Regions from separate parts of the Homo sapiens genome. Here region 1 is linked to region 2. Evidence: promoter capture Hi-C in 16 types of primary human blood cells and fetal thymus (Javierre and others, 2016). All regions are on one chromosome and are shown on one strand. The core of a region is centred on a gene start or on the middle of the fragment in contact, and the rest is flanking DNA. Distances in the headings are between cores, read along the strand shown.

Evidence for each region. Contacts are between HindIII fragments. The CHiCAGO score rates a contact against its expected background, and 5 or more counts as called.
Region 1: a contact is called between a fragment that was not itself captured here and the fragment with the promoter of UNC5B in region 2, in 5 of 17 cell types (endothelial precursors, M1 macrophages, M0 macrophages and 2 more). The highest score is 13.1, in endothelial precursors.

The regions. Positions count from the first base shown.
Region 1 is chr10:70,940,441-70,943,737 of GRCh38, reverse strand. The region is part of intron 1 of LINC02622 (long intergenic non-protein coding RNA 2622); the gene reads right to left. Among named protein-coding and RNA genes, the nearest start is that of LINC02622, 3.0 kb to the right of the region's middle. The HindIII fragment of the contact is 2,530 bases long and covers 203-2,732 here.
Region 2 is chr10:71,211,161-71,214,173 of GRCh38, reverse strand. It overlaps UNC5B (unc-5 netrin receptor B), which reads right to left and starts at 1,604. Exons shown (of 17, transcript NM_170744.5): 1 at 1,110-1,604. The coding sequence starts at 1,188. RefSeq lists a silencer at 1,444-1,703 and an enhancer at 1,548-1,842. The HindIII fragment of the contact is 10,825 bases long and covers 1-3,013 here.

The DNA.
Region 1 (3,297 bases), core at 218-2,717, 270 kb after region 2:
TATAGAGTGTCGTGCATGTGTGAGAAATGCTGATGACACCACCCTCCAGCTGCTAGTCAGTGCTAGCTGGGCAATTCTGTCCTTCCCCTGACAACACACAGACAGGGTGAAATGGCCCCTGGGTCCCTGGGCAGCCCTGAGCTTCCCCGAGGACAACCTGGGGACAGGAGGACTTCTTCAAGGCCATCACCCTCAGAAAGCTTTGGTTATCCACCCACTCAGCTTATGTGCTCAGAGCAAATGAGGCCAGGACAGTGAGCCATTCCCAGTGCTCCTATTGGACAGAATCTGCACTGGCCCCAGGCTGACACTGGCCCTGACCTGGTGAGACCTCTGGTCCAGCCCTGAGTTGAGGTCCTGAAGCCAACCCCAGCTGTACCCAGCTCTGACCAACTTCTTCATTCAGGATCCGCGTGAGCCCCCAGCCATTGCCTGAGCCATCCCCTGACCTCAACCCCTGGCCAAGCCCCGACCCAGCCCTCCCTGTCACCCTTCAGTTCCAATGCCAGTCCACATGCCCCCACCCCAACCAAGCCTAGGACAGCCCCCTCCTCCCACTCAAAACTACACTGTGCTCCAAACCGTGTCAGCCTTGCCTTGGGAAAAAGAGAGAGACCCCAGTGTCCCCAGCAGTTTACACTGCGGGCACCTTCCACAAACTGCAGAGCCCTCCTGCCCACACTATCCCCTCAGCACATGCCTGTCATTAGCCATTCTTCCCAGTTGGCACTATTTTCAGGTATCTGCACACAGAGACATCTAGCAACTCACCAAAAGCCACACAGCATAGCTGTGGCTGGGCGAGGACTCAGATGGCCACCAAGAGATTCCTAATTCACTCACTCAGCCATTCAGTCACTAAACAAACATGCACTGAGTACCCACATCCATGCCAGGCCCTCGGGGTCAGTTATTGGAAAACAGACATGGCCCCTGCTCTCAAGGGGCTCACAGGCTGGGCAAAGATGAGACTTGTTCCCTGTAACTGCACCAAACTTCTTGCAGTTGCTGCCTCATTCCCTCCCCAACACACACACACACACACACACACACACACACACACACACACACACACGCTCCACCCTCCAGGCTGGCAAAGTGGAGACACACCTGAAATTAGCATAATGGGCTTGGGGGGGTGGAGGGAGGCCCAGGACCTCTTTGTCCATCTGTGATGCTACCAGGAATGAGGCCCGTGTTGGTGGCCGTGGGAACACGCAGTGCTGCATCAGTAATTGGGTCCATGTGGGAAGGGGATGAGCAATGATGTCCCCATGTCCCTAAGCACACAGGGTGACTTGCAGTGACCCTGCCTAAAGCCCACATCTCCACAGCCATGATGGAGTAGCAGGCAGCAGCCACTGGGCTGAGGCTGCAGGAGACCTGCCCACCAGGCCTTCACACATGTGCGGGCTCTGCACAGGGCAGGATGTCAGGGAGGCTGAGGACAGAAGCCCAGGGGCTGTCCCCAGCTTCTAACATCAGCGGGTCATAGAACTTCCTGCCTCAGCTTCTTGAAATCATGGCGTCCTTGACCTCAGGTACCCCTTCCATTATGCTCCGGCTCTCCCAACTTCTTAGAAGCCTCCTCAACTCCTGGCCCCTTTTGCGGAGGAGGCGGGAGGCAGTGAAATCATGGCATGAAGAGGTGGCGGACCCAAGCTCCAGCCCCCATGCTGCAGGAGCAGCTGTGTGACCTTTTGGGCAGGTCACCCAGCCTCATGCACCACCTCAGTGTCTCATCTAAGAAACAAGGCTGTGGGAGCCCTTCCCACAGGGTGGTGGTGACATCAGACTGCCACTGTGCTTGGCTAAAGGCTGGAGGCACAGAGGGTACCCAGCCAACGGGAGTTCCTTCATCTTATCTCACCTGCCACAGAGCCAGTCTCCCAGCACCACAGCCCCAAAGCAGCCCCCCAGGTGGGAAATGCCTTGGGGGTACCTACTGTTCCTTTGCTCACCACCCCTCCACAGCCTCCTCTTGGGTGGTCTTCAACTTCTACTTTCCCTCCCCCACGCCCTGACATCTGCCTCCTCCTCCCCACCCCTCACACAGAGCTCTCCTGATGCCCTGAGGCCTCCAGTGCCTCCATTCACAAGGAACTGCAATGGTACAGCCTTAATCTGTGTTCCTTCTCCTGGGCCTCCATATTTTGGAAGCTGGGACTGTTGACCTAAATGTATCCAAAGAAATGACTTCCTAATGGTGGAATTACGGGTATCGGGCATCTTGGTAGGAGGGAGCTTTGAGAATGAGAGCCTTCTTAACACCTCTCCAATCATACCCCATGGCTCCCCTTCAGGGTAAGAGTCTTCCTACACAGAGATCAGTGGATCTGGAATAAAGCCAACAGCCGCCGCCTAGCCCTGAGCATGCTTGGAAACCCACAGCCTGCTCTTGGACAGGAAGGTTCAGCCACAGCAGCCAGGACAGCTGCAGCTTTAAGAACGACTCCTGAGCCCAGAGAAGCATGGAGTGGAGGGGATTGATTTTTGGGTCCTCCTGGAGACTGGGATCCAAAATCAATCTGGCAATTAATAGGCAAGGTGTGAAATGGCTCTGGTTTCAGGCTCCCAGTGTCCCTGGTTGTCTTCCCCAGAGAAGGGCCCTGCTGCCTCTGTGCTTCCTTCCACTCCCCATATTCTGGGGCTCTGGTGACAGCTCCTGAGAAGTCCAGCTGGCTGGCCCTCTTCCAGGGCCTTGTCACCTGGACAGGGCCACAGGATAAGCTTGGCCAGCTGGCAGGGCTGGGAGGAGGGAGCAGGCAGCCTGGATTAGTGGCCAGGGAAGGGAAAGCCACCAGGGGCCCTTTCAAGCCCCTCCATCTCCACCCCTACATCACAGGTAAGAAGCAGGACATGGCGGGGCTTCTAGGGACTCTAAATTTCCAGAGGGCCAGCACCATGGGGGCAAATAACTGTCCATCCTATGTCCTCCAACCACTCTGCTGACCGAGCCTGGTGGACAGGCCCTCCCCCATTGCACAGACAGGCTGCTTGAGCTCCTAAGAATGTGTCCATCCAAGCGCCAAGTGGGTGGAATGGCCCCCAGATGCTCAGAACAGAACTGGGTGTGGGCTATGAGCCCATAAGAGAAGGTTTCTTGGAGAGGCAGGGACTCAGCTGAGTGATTGGGGTGAAACCCAGAAAGGCAAAAAGGAGAAAAGTGGCACGCCCAGTGAGGGATGAGTACGTGCCAAGGTCAGGGGATAAGATAAACAGGTCACAGCACAGTGCGTGACAGTAGGGGGACAGAATGGCCCAGCTCAAGGGCTGGAGCACAGCAGCCTTCAAGGT
Region 2 (3,013 bases), core at 355-2,854:
CTGCTCCATTCTCAGCCTCAACTCAGAGAGGACTCCGTGCAGGAGGCCCCGTCCCCACCTGGCTCCGGAGCCGAGCCGCCCGGCAGCCGTGGCCAGCCCACTTGCTTGGGTTCGGGTACCAGAGAGAGGCTGGCTCCATTCAGTCCACAGCCTCCCCGAGAAGACGCAGCCCAGCCAGCGACGCCGGGTCCAGCTACAGGACGAGCGAGAAACGTATTCATCCACGGCGAGAGAGGAGGGTTAGGGACTTTATTTCGGAGCCCACCAGTTCGCTGAAGTCATCTTGGTGGGTCCAGAGCGGGCGCTGTACCAAGGAGAGCGCACCTAGTCTGTTCCCCGGACAGCGAGAATGTCAGTGACCAATTTAAAAGGAAACTCCGCAGGATCGCTAAGAACCCCTACCCGCATCCAACACACACACACACACACACACACACACACACACTCTCCAACACTCAGAAAATTAATAATAATAATAATAATAATAATAATAATAATTCTTCCAGACCTGCGGGCCCAGCGATCTCGGGGAAAGCTATGTGTGCAAGACTTAGCCCTCCCCGCTTCAGGAGCCCTGCAAGCCGGCCTGCCGAGGCTACCGAAGCGCTTCCTGTGTTCAGCAGGTCTTTTCGCTCTCTCCCTCTAGTCTGCAGATTGCTGTCCCTATAGCGCGTAAGAGCCTAGGCGAGCCGGGACCAGACTAGTAAGTTACCGGCGTACGGCAGCGAGCGCACACCTTGCTTATGTAGCCAATGTTCTTTTTCGGGGCGGATGCCAGGCGCGCGGAGAGCCGGGCGTCCCCAGGAGGCGGATCCTCCCGGAGACTCAGACCCTGACTCCTACACCCCTTCCAGGGAGAAGAAGGGATCCCTTTCAGGAGCGAGCAGGGACCTTTCAGCTTACTGTGAAGCCCCTTCCCTGCTCCCCGCTCCCGCGATGTGGATGCGCCATTGCCCACTTTGGGAGGCAGTAAAATCTACATTCTAACTTGGGCGCCCTTGCCGCTTTTCCTGCGCGCATCGATGCGACGAAAGACCACCTCAACTTCAGGACAGAGTGAGGCGCAAGGGTCCCCTAGCCCCGCGCCCCCAGACCCGATCGCTTCCTACCTGCTTGGCTCAGCCTCGGGTCCCAGCAGAGCAGCAGTGCCAGCAGCAGCGCGCCCCGAGCTCCGCTCCGGGCCCCCATGCTCCCGCGGCCTGGTTCGGGCGCCTCTCCCCCAGGGCTGTCTCCCTGGCCCCAGTCTCGCCGCCGCCGTCTCCGCCGCCGCCGCCTCCTCCTCGCCGTCCTCCCCGGCGCCCGGCAGCGCCAGCCCGTGCCTTCCGTGGGGGCAGCGGAAGCCACGCTGCGCGGAGGGCCGCCTGGCACTCGGAGCGCGGTGGGTGCCTGGCGCCGGCTCTCGAACGAGGCTCCGGCGCGCCCCTCTGGCTCCGGGTCTCTGAGCGCTCGCCTGGCTCCGGCGCTGTGCCTCCGAAGTTGCGCGACCGCTCAGTGGCGCTCGCAGCGGCGGCGCCGCGCAGTCCCAGCCCCAGTGCGCGCCTCTCGGAGCCCCGCGGCTGCGTGCGGCTCCGGCGCCCTAGCCGGCCCCAGCCGCCTGCCACAATGCCGAGCGCCGCCGCTCGCTCGCCGGAGTGAGTTCGCCAACCGAGGGGACCGCGCGCGGCCGGGGCGGGGCCTGGGCGACCGAGGGCGGAGCCGACAGGGGGACCTTGAGGGGGGATCCGACGGCCATCTGGGCGCGGCCGCGGCAGAGCTGGGGGACCCGGGGGGAGGGTCCTCGCGAGACGCTGGGCGCAGCGTTTTGAAAAACCCGGCCGCTGGAGAATGGCTGGACGTGGAGGCGGCCCAATTTTCGCTCCCCCAAATTAAGGAAATCTGGCTTTGCGCCTTCATTTGGCTTGGCCATGTCAGCTTTCTCCTCTGATTAAACATAGGACTCTCACTTTTGGCTCCCCTGTCTGTAGTATGCGCTCTGCCTTCCACATGTGGGGGTCTTTCCAAAAAAAAGGCTCCCAAAATGAGAACACCCAAGTCCTGGTTACGCGGGGGCTTACAGCGATATGAAGCTGGGTATAGATTAGGATCATCCTGGCTGGCTCTGCTTGTCTGTATGATCTCCGGCAGAACTGTTAACCAGACCCCTGGAAACCCCTCCAGCACTCTGATCCTGCGTTGTTGTAAACTAGCCTCCTACCTGACAGTGGGACAGCCATTTTTGGCTCAGTGTAAACTTGGACTCTGCCCCTTATTTACTGTGTGACCTTGAACAAGTTACTTAACAATTCTATTGCTCCCTTCATCATCATCTGTAAAATGGAGGAAAAGGATAACTATTTCATAAGGGGGTATAGAATTAAATTTTAAAACTTGTGTGGAAATTGCAGTGCAAGTGTCAATAATCTCTTTCCAAGATTCTCCCCTCCCAGCCAGTCTGATTCCAGGGGGAAAGTCCTGACCACCCAAAGGTGGTCCAAGGAGCACGTGGGGACAGGTGAGGTTTGAAGGATGGGCAGTGTCTTGGGATTGAAACCCAGAGAGATCAGAACGAGCGGATCAGCTAACATAGGCAAAGACCTTCCCTGTGCCAGGCACAGGGCTAAGCACTCTGTATGCATCATGTCAGTTAATTCTCACAACCCTCTGAAGTAAGCACCATTTACATCCCATTTTACAGATGAAGGACCTGAGGCACAGAGGTGTAAAGCCACCTGCCGGAGATCACACTGCTTGGAGTGACTGAGTGACTGAGCAAAGGGGATGGGGGAGATGGGATTGGAAAGAAACCCTCTAAACGGGGGAGCCTCACTTGAACACCTTCCCTGGGGCTGGATTGGGCTGTGCGAAGGGGACTGTCCTAGCTGTTTCCCCAGAGGTGAGGTGAAGGCAGGACTAGTACCCTCTCCACACACACTCCCCTCACAAGCCGGGGTCTTGGAGTATCTAGGGGAGGTCGTGCATGCCATCAGCACATCTCCCTAACCCTCTCTGACTGGGCACCCAGCATCAGGAGGGT